Regions from separate parts of the Homo sapiens genome. Here region 2 is linked to region 1. The links are contacts of gene promoters, found by promoter capture Hi-C in human tissues and cell types (Jung and others, 2019). All regions are on one chromosome and are shown on one strand. The core of a region is centred on a gene start or on the middle of the fragment in contact, and the rest is flanking DNA. Distances in the headings are between cores, read along the strand shown.

Region 1 (4,718 bases), core at 1,073-3,572:
CAAAAGCAGGTACTTTTATTTATAGCTTCCAGAGGATCCAGCCCACACCTTCCTGTCAATTAAGCTTGCTCCAGAGCCTGGCACCTCTGTATTAACCTGTGAGTTGCCTGGATGGCAAGTACAGGGTGAAGGCTAAAGGTGATGGCCCTTACCTGCTCCAGGTGTCACTCAAGTCCTGTTTCATCTTAGCCTCCCACCCCACAGCCAAATGCCGGTGGCTTTGTGCATGGGGAATCCTATGGTAAATAAGCATGGCGGTGCTACCAGGCCCACCCCAAAATCAGGCAGATGGGATTGAGTGTCTGGAAACAACCCTACCATAATAAACCAGTTTGTAATTCATGGGGACAGGTGTGGAGCAGTGGGGAGTTACCATCTCTTGGGAACCTGGTGAGAAGCTCCCAGGGAGACACACATGTGCCCCTCACACACACACACGCACACACACACACGAACACAGACACACTCCTACCCAAGAGGCCCTGAGCGGCACCCACCCACACGCTCGGAGGCAGCCCACACTCGTCCCATGAGTAGGCACCTATTCCTGCCTCTCCTTGGAGTCCTCCTAGAAATAGGGGCAGCTGTGTTTGGCGGTAGGGGTCTCCAGGACCTGGGTGTCTGCTTGTCCCTCCCTCCCTACGGTTCTGGGAAAGCTGAGATGACATCCCCCCGCTAGCTTGGGAGGGTGGCAGTGAGTGAGCTGGGGTGGACAGAGGGGTGGGTGTGAACCCAAGTTCTCTACACCCAGAAGACTGGGGAAGGGCAGGGTGTGAGGGACAGGTTGAGGCAACACCCGAGAAACACCCACACTCCTGTGTGGATCCACCCCAAGACAGGCATGTACACACCCACACACAGGCAGGCACGCACGCGCATACACACATGCGCCAAGAGTGCCCACCCACCCGCGTCCCACACCTCCGCAGATGTCCTCACTCCCACACACCCATCTCCACATTCAGGTGCCTGCTGCCACCTTCCACATTCTAAGAATGCCCCACAGTTTTCCCTCTTCAATCTGTCACCTCCATGCACACCCAGACATGTTCATGTCCACAGGCTCACGCACACACACGTCCACGCACACCGCCTCACAAGCCATATGTGGGGAAAAGAGGATGCCACAGGCACCAACATGCATGTGTGCCACCTCCACAAGAAGGCACGCAACCCACACGCCTGCCGGCACACACATGTGTGTTCATACACACAGCAGCCCCCGCCCGAAGTCTGGTATTCTCTCTCGAATCATCTCCAGGCTCAAAGACAGACTTTGAAAATGTGTTTGCCTCTGGCCACACTCTGCCAGCCCTGAGCCTTCATGCCAACAGGTTTGTGCACCTACGTGGCTCTGCCCACAGACAATGGTTTCTGCCCCTTCTTCTCTTTACCCACTCCATCCTGCTCTGGGTCTCACCTCCCCATATAGAAAGCCCCTGTCTGCATACACTCCCACACACATGAAAAGGGACATGGTTACCCCTAAATATACTGCCTCATAGTGTCCCCACCCACGCACACCCACAGGCTACTCAAATAAGTCCCCCACACACATGTACCTCACGTGTGCCAGAAAGATATGTTTCTAGACATGCCTCACACCATTCAAAACCCACACATGAGCATGACTGCGGACAGACGGACCTATCTGCGCCAGCAAGCCTCCAGCCAACTCGCGAGCGCGCACACACACACGCCGCGCACACCGGTGCCCCTTCCCCATGCCCATTCAAACAGCCACCCTGCCACAGGGAATGCTTCCCCCACCCTGCTGTCCCTGTTGGCATCGCTGACTGCAGCAGAACGGTCACGGGGTGACTAACTGTGGTGCCCCAGAGACTGGATTCAGCCATTAACCACTTTGCCAAAGGCCTGGCCGGGGGGGGGGAGAGGGGACAAGGTCGTCAGGCCTGGCAGTCCAGGTGGGCACCCTGGGTGGTGGCAGGACCCTAGAGCCCCCAGATCCCGGCTACTCAGGATCAACAGCAGCAGGTTCCAGGGAGGAAGGGTACTCACCTGGCTCCACTGGGCTCTGCAGAGGAAAAGCTCGCAGGGAGGACAGGGAGAGACCTCTGCGTGGATGAGCTCCCCGGCAGGGGACAGCAGCCGGACGCCTGGGTCACGGGCAGTGGCGTGCGCTTGCTCCTCTCCCGGCTGCCAAGGAGGCTGCTTCCATGCCCCGCAGCCAGCTCCTGTCTGGCTGTGCAGCGCGTCGCTGCTGCCCCTGGTGAGACGATGTTCCCAGCTGAGCAGCGCAAGAAGAGAGGCAAGAGCGAAATCAAAGCAGCGTGGAGGAGAGAGAGGCAGAGAAGGGAGAAAGAACGAGAGAGCCAGACCGAATCTGCCTCCACCAATGGGATCAGCGGCTGCGCAGCGTCAGGTGATAATAAGCAGGCTTGGTCCCTGCTCGCCGGGCTGGTGGGAGGGGGAAAGGGCAGAGGGTCTCCCAGGGAGCTACACAGATGTCCTCAGGGACAGCAACACACGCCGCCTTTCCCCCATTCTTCCAGGACAAGCTGCCCTCAGAAGTCCCTCCAACACACCCCCTACTTGGAAATCTCTGACTTGAATGCAGCCCCCAAACTTTAGGATGCTGGGAGAGGGGTGGAGCTTAGCCAAGGGCTTGGGCCCCAAAGCAAAGACTCTGATTGGGGGAAGGGGAGGGAGGCTGTAGAGGGGAAAGGTCCAGATGGGGGGTGTGAAGCTGGGGTGGCTGTCTTCAGTCCGGAGCCTCTCCTTGGGGCCTTTTGGTGAACTGTGGTTCCATTTTCTTACCAACTCTAGAGAGAGATGGCAGACCTGCAGCTCAGGGATCCCTGTGGGTCTGGCAAGAACCCTCTGGCAGCTTGGGGGTCCACAGGAAAAGGGGCTGGGAGAGAGGCTGTGGCACAGTGCAGGGTGCACAGGGGTAAGAAAATGGGGGTGGGAGAACACACCAAGCTCTGAGTGTCCTCAGCCCACCCCACTCTCTGAGCACAAAGGAAGCCGGCCCTGGGCATCTTGGGGAGAGAATGTAATTCTGCTCTCACGGCAGCAGGAGGCTGTTCTGCCATCAAGAAGCAGACTCCGTGGAGGCCATCGGGAAGAACATCCAAGGAAATGTGAGTCCAGCAGCAAGCAGGGACAGAGGGTTGCGCAGTGGTGAAAAGCACAGGCTCACAGTCAGATGGATGTGCTGAGAATCCCTGCTCTACTGCTACCCAGCTGGGGGACCTTGGACAAGCCACTCAACCTCTCTTCATCTGTCAAGTGGGATCACACAGGTTTATTGTCATCATGGAATGAAATAATTAGGTAAATCGCCCAGCCCTGGGCCTGGCACATCAGAAGTGCCAGTCACATGTCAGAACTGTTCTTGTTCCCATCATATCGACAGCATCTTCCTGCAAGGAGCCCACAGTCCTCTACGGGAGAGAAGATGGCCATTTAGAGGATGCAATTAGAGAATGAGGAGCACACAACTAAATCGTAGGGCACAGATACTCATTCAGAGAAAGAACAATGGGCGGCTCCAGGGCACGTGCAGGGTGCAGGCCAGAGGAGGCTGTGGAAGCAGGAGTGCGGCTGGGGTGGGGAGGATTGGCACGGGGGCAGCTGACACCAGGCAGGCCCAGGGTGAGGTCTTGGTGAGCAGGAGAAGGTGTGAGCTGAGCCTAAGAAACACTCACCAAGAGGGAGTTGAGGCGGCAGGCCTCAGTGCAAAAGTCAGAGGAGGTAACAGCAGCAGAAAGTGAGAGTTCACAGAATGCAAAGACAAGCAGAAGCCAACCCTGCCTGAAACGGCTGTGAGAACCTCAGTGAGCCTGGCCAGGTCCTGAACTGCCGAATGTGGGGTGGTGCGTGGCACTGAGGCAGGACTAAGCACCCCCTTGGCCAAGCATGACTACGTCCTGCTCCGACATACCCACGCCGAGCTGGTGAGCTCAGAAGAGATGCAAAACGTAACCTCCTGGTGATGGCCAGCACATGACATCTGGACTACAATTCTGTCCCAGGCCGGGCGCAGTGGCTCACAAGAATCCGAACACTTTGGGAGACTGAGGCAGGCAGATCACCTGAGATCAGGAGTTCGAGACCAGCCTAGCTAACATGGCGAAACCCCATCTCTACTAAAAATATAAAAATTAGCTGGGTGTGGTGGTGGGCGCCTGTAATCCCAGCTACTTGGGAGGCTGAGGCACAAGAATCGCTTGAACCCGGGAGGTGGAGGTTGCAGTGAGCCAAGATTGCACCACTGCACTCCAGCCTGAGTGACAGAGTGAGATTGTGCCTCGAAAAATAAATAAATAAATAAATAATAAAATCCTGTCCCTAGGACCACACAGAGGGGCAGTGCAAGGAAAAAGGCAGGTTCTCTGTGACTTGGTTTCCCCTTCTGCCAAAGGAAAACTAGCCCCAGCACCATCCCTGCCTCCCACCTTCTCGGGATGTCATGAGGAGACTGCACGAGGTCCTGTGGCCCAAGCATGAGCAATAGCCATCTGAGCGCCCCTTTGTGGAGCTGCGTGCCGGCGACAGGTGAAGGCACAGCCCTTTAGGAGCTTCTGCCTCTTCTTGCCTCAGAGGACTTCTCTACAGATCACGAGAGGAAACACGTGGTAAGAGCAAACCATAGTGTGCCAAGTATAACTCACTCCCTATGAAACCAAACAACCGCCAAGATGCACTTCTGCTGCATTTTTATTTTTCATAACTTTTTATGACACAAGTAGCAC
Region 2 (4,718 bases), core at 778-3,277, 230 kb after region 1:
TTTTTTTCCTTTAATTTGGATATGGGTCATTCACCTTTGCAACTGTCCCATATTTGGTTTATATTTTGCCAAGGATAAGCATCTTGATAGTGCTAACAGTAAGGAAAAGTTATCTGTTAGCAGCCTAAAATCTTACAACAGTGGAGAGAGAAGAAAATGCCAAGAGAATAAAGGACAAAATCATGCAAGTCTGTAGTCATCAGTGGCTTCTGGCATCTGGGAGGTTGTGTTCTGATTATCTTGGACATAAATAGTCTATTCATTTTATCTTCTGCTTCTGGACCATAACAGTTCTGGAAATCTTGGCTCACCCACTGTTTGTCCATGGCAATGATGTCGGCAGTATGCATCATTAATTTATTCTCTGTAGTGTCAGTAATGGGTGCATGATACAAACATTTACAAAAGTTCTTTTGATAAGTCTTCCACAAGGCTCAATTCCTATCTTTAGCTTATAGCCAGGAACTTTAGATGAATGTAAGGAAGAAGCGGAAACCACCTGTGGATCATGGGACTATAGGCTTTAGTTGATTTATTATATTAACCAGCATTATCAGAATGGAAGGGAGTGGAATCTTCTATTGCAGAAAGTACATAATGAATTTTATGAGTAGTCACTGATTATCCTAGAAGTAAGAATATCTCACAAACAGGGAGGACATTGACAGTCTCTAGGACTTTCTTTCATTTATCCTATAAAGTGTATTATGAGTTTCACCATTCCAAGTTTACTGAAACCTAGAAATAAAATCCTTTTTTAGATAGCTATTGTGGCAGTCTTTGTACTCGAATGTATGTTTTCTTTTTTTTTTTTTTGAGACGAAGTTTCTCTCTTGTTTCCCAGGCTGGAGTGCAATGGCATGATCTCGGCTCACTGCAACCTCCGCCTCCTGGATTCAAGCAATTCTCCTGCCTCAGCCTTCCAAGTAGCTGGGATTACAGGTGTCCACCACCAAACCCCGCTAATTTTTTGTATTTTTAAGAGAGATGGGGTTTCACCATGTTGGTCAGGCTGGTCTCGAACTCCTGACCTCAGGTGATCTGCCTACCTCGGCCTCCTAATATTTTCTTTAAGCCGAAAGATACTTAAATGTTGAAGTATATTTATTTTAACCACATTTTATTATACATGATTAAATTGGGAAGGCTTAACTTTCCTTATGATTTGTGAGGTTTTTTTTTCCCTTTAACCCAAATTTAATAAAGCAAAGAGTTCTCACAAAAGTTTTAAGTTAATTAAAATTCAGAGTATGCCAAACAAAGCTAATAATTTTTATAATCCTTTAAAAAATTTTTAATAAAGTAAAGGACTAAAGCTTTGTTTTACCTAGTGGCCATTTATTATAAACCCAAAGATGTAGTAGGTGTAAAAGACATCTTAACAATTTCTTATTATTTACTTATTTTTTAGAGACAGGGTCTCGCTCAGCTGTCTAGGCTGGAGTGCAGTGGCTGGATCATAGCTCACTGCAGCCTCAATCTCCTGGGCTCAAGTGATTTTCCTGCCTCAGCCTCCTGAGCAGCTGGGACTATAGGTGTGCACCACCACACTCAACTAATTTTTGTGTTTTTTTGGTAGAGACAGAGTTTCGCCATGTTGCGCAGGCTGGTCTCGAACTCCTGAGCTCAAGCAATCCACCCACCTCAGCCTCCCAGAGTGATGAGATTCTTTTTATAGGTGTGAGTCATCATACCTGGACTACTTTTTGCTTTTTGACTGATGATTCCAAGAGCCTTTTCAGTGTTTAGCACATAGACGTAGATAGTTGTAGTCTTTACTTAAGTTTGAATGAAGTGAGTTATGCGTGGGCTGAGTTCACTCAAAGCTTGCCTCAGCTGGGATTATTGACCATATACCCACTTTACTGGAGAATGAGTATGCCAAGAGACCGAGGCAGAATCTGCAAAATCACTTCTGCTGCAATGTATTTGTTAAAGCAGGTCACTAAGGCCAGTTCAGATTCTACGGGAGAGACATTAGACTCTCCCTTTTTTTTTTTTTTTTTGTCACCTAGGCTGGAATGCAGTGGTGCTATCTTGGCTCACTGCAGCCTCGACTTCCTGGGCTCAAGTGATCCTCCCACCTCAGCCGCCCAAGTAGCTGGGACTCCAGGCTTGTGACACCACATTCGGCTAATTTTTGTTGTGTTTTTAGTAGAGACGGGGTTTCACCATGTTGCCCAGGCTGGACTCAAACTCCTGAGCTCAAGCATTCTGCCTGGCTCAGCCTGCCAAAGTGCTAGGATTACAGGCATGAGCCACTGGGCCTGGCCTTAGACTCTACTTCTTGATAGGATAGGGTCAGGTCACTGCTATGCTTTAAATATGATCCCCAGAAAGCATATGTTGGCTGCCTGGGTGATGGGTATACTAGAAGCCCAAACTTTACCATTATGCAGTATATCCATGTAAAAAAGGTACACATATACCCCTTGAATCTGAAATTTAAAAATAAAATAAGTATGTATTAGAAAATTTATCCCAAATGCAGTAGTGTCGGGAGGTGGGGCCTAATGAGAGGTGTTTAGGTCATGAAGCCACCTCTAATGAATGCATTAATGTTGATTATAAAAGGGCTTAAGGCTGCAAGTTCTATCTCTTGCTCTCTCTTATCCCTCTTTGCCCTTCCACTATGGGATGATGCAGCAAGAAGACCCATGCCAGATGCCTGGCCCCTCAATCTTGAACTTCTTAGCCTCCAGAACTATGAATGAGTAAATTTCTATTCATTATAAATTATCCAGTCTATAATATTTTGTCATAGCAACACAAAACAGACCAAGACAGTGAGATTACAGAAGAGTATGTAGAGTGAGAAATATTATTGTAGCCATTTTTTTTTAGTTTTTGCTTTTTTTAAAAAATTATTCTTTAAGTTCTAGGGTACATGTGCTCAACATGCAGGTTTGCTACATAGGTATACATGTGCCATGTTGGTTTGCTGCACCCACCAACTCATCATTTACATTAGGTATTTCTCCTAATGCTCTCCCTCCCCCAGCCCCCCATCCTCCGACCAGCCCCAGTGTGTGATGTTCCCCACCCTGTGTCCATGTGATCTCATTGTTCAATTCCCACCCAAGAGTGAGAACATGTGGTGTTTGGTTTTCTGTCCTTGTGATAGTTTGCTGAGAATGATGGTTTCCAGCTTCATCCATGTCCCTGCAAAGGACATGAACTCATCCTTTTTATGGCTGCATAGTATTCCATGGTCTATATGTGCCACGTTTTCTTTATCCAGTCTATCATTGATGGACATTTGGGTTGGTTCCAAGTCTTTGCTATTGTGAGCAGTGCTGCAATAAACATACGTGCACATGTGTCTTTATAGTAGAATGATTTATAATCCTTTGAGTATATGCCTAGTAATGGGATTGCTGGGTCAAATGGTATTTCTAGTTCTAGATCCTTGAGGAATCACCACACTGTCTTCCACAGTGGTTGAACTGATTTACACACCCACCAACGGTGTATTTCTCCACATCCTCTCCAGCATCTGTTGTTTCCTGACTTTTTAATGATCACCATTCTAACTGGTGTGAGATGGTATCTTATTGTGGTTTTGATTTGCATTTCTCTGATGACCAGTGATGATGAGCATTTTTGCATATGTCTGTTGGCTGCATAAATGTCTTCTTTTGAGAAGTGTCTGTTCATATCCTTTGCCCACTTTCTGATGGGGTTGTTTTTTTCTTGTAAATTTGTTTAAGTTCTTTGTAGATTCTGGATATTAGCCCTTTGTCAGATGGGTAGATTGCAAAAATTTTTTCTGTTTTTGCTTTTTGAGATGGAGTCTCACTCTGTTGTCCAGGCTGACGACTGTAGCTGACTGCAGCCTCAACCTATTGGGTTCCAGAGATCCTTCTGTGTCAGCCTCCTGAGTAGCTGGGAGTACAGGCAGATGCCACCACACCTGGATAATTTAAAAAAAAAATTTTGTAGAGATGGGGGTCTCACCATGCTGCCCAGGCTGGTTTCGAACTCTTGGCTTCAAGCAGTCTCCCCAACTTGGATTCCCAAAGTGCTGGGATTACAGGAGTGAGTCACCATGCCTGGCTGGTTGCAGCCAGTTTTGGAAAATAAAATGTGCTACAGACATTGTAAGGGCAAAATATTTAACAATAACTGAGATTTCTAAAAATTGCAGATTGGCTAAATGTTAATAAATTATGATCTAAGTAAATTATATCTACCTAGGAGAAAATAAAAAAAAATTTATGGTATTTTAAGGTATTTATTTATGTACTTATGCATTGAGATATTTGCCATCAAAATTTTTACTAGTGCGTATAAGTACCTAACACATAGTAGCAATTCAATAAAATTATTTGAATGAATTAATTGAGGATACTTTTCGATCATAGTTTTTATGGTGAGAGTTTTCATTTTGTTCTGTCTTATTTTTATGTGTATTTTAGTTAGATGTTCGCTTAGTCTATTCAAGATGTGTTTTTTGTTTGTTTGTTTGTTTTGAGACAGAGCATTGCTCTGTCGCCCAGGTTGGAGTTTCAGTGGTGCGATCTCAGCTCACTGCAACCTCCACTTCCTGGGTTCAAGTGATTCTCCTGCTTCAGCCTCCTGAGGCAAGCACGCGCCACCACACCCGGCTAATTTTTTATTTTTAGTAGAGATAGGGTTTCACCATGTTGGTCAGGCTGGTTTTGAACTCGACCTTATGATCCACCTGCCTCCGCCTCCCAATGTTCTGGGATTACAGG

The links. The method cuts DNA at HindIII sites, captures the fragments that hold promoters and counts their contacts. A contact is called where the count stands out against the background at its distance.
Region 2: a fragment that was not itself captured here is called in contact with the fragment with the promoter of PHYHIP in region 1 in 3 of the 25 tissues and cell types used here (H1 embryonic stem cells, adrenal gland and liver).

The regions. Positions count from the first base shown.
Region 1 is chr8:22,229,777-22,234,494 of GRCh38, forward strand. It overlaps PHYHIP (phytanoyl-CoA 2-hydroxylase interacting protein), which reads right to left and starts at 2,323. Exons shown (of 5, transcript NM_014759.5): 1 at 2,020-2,323. RefSeq lists enhancers at 858-1,027, 1,953-2,700. The HindIII fragment of the contact is 22,356 bases long and covers 1-4,718 here.
Region 2 is chr8:22,462,988-22,467,705 of GRCh38, forward strand. The region is part of intron 1 of PPP3CC (protein phosphatase 3 catalytic subunit gamma); the gene reads left to right. Among named protein-coding and RNA genes, the nearest start is that of PPP3CC, 24 kb to the left of the region's middle. The HindIII fragment of the contact is 3,217 bases long and covers 420-3,636 here.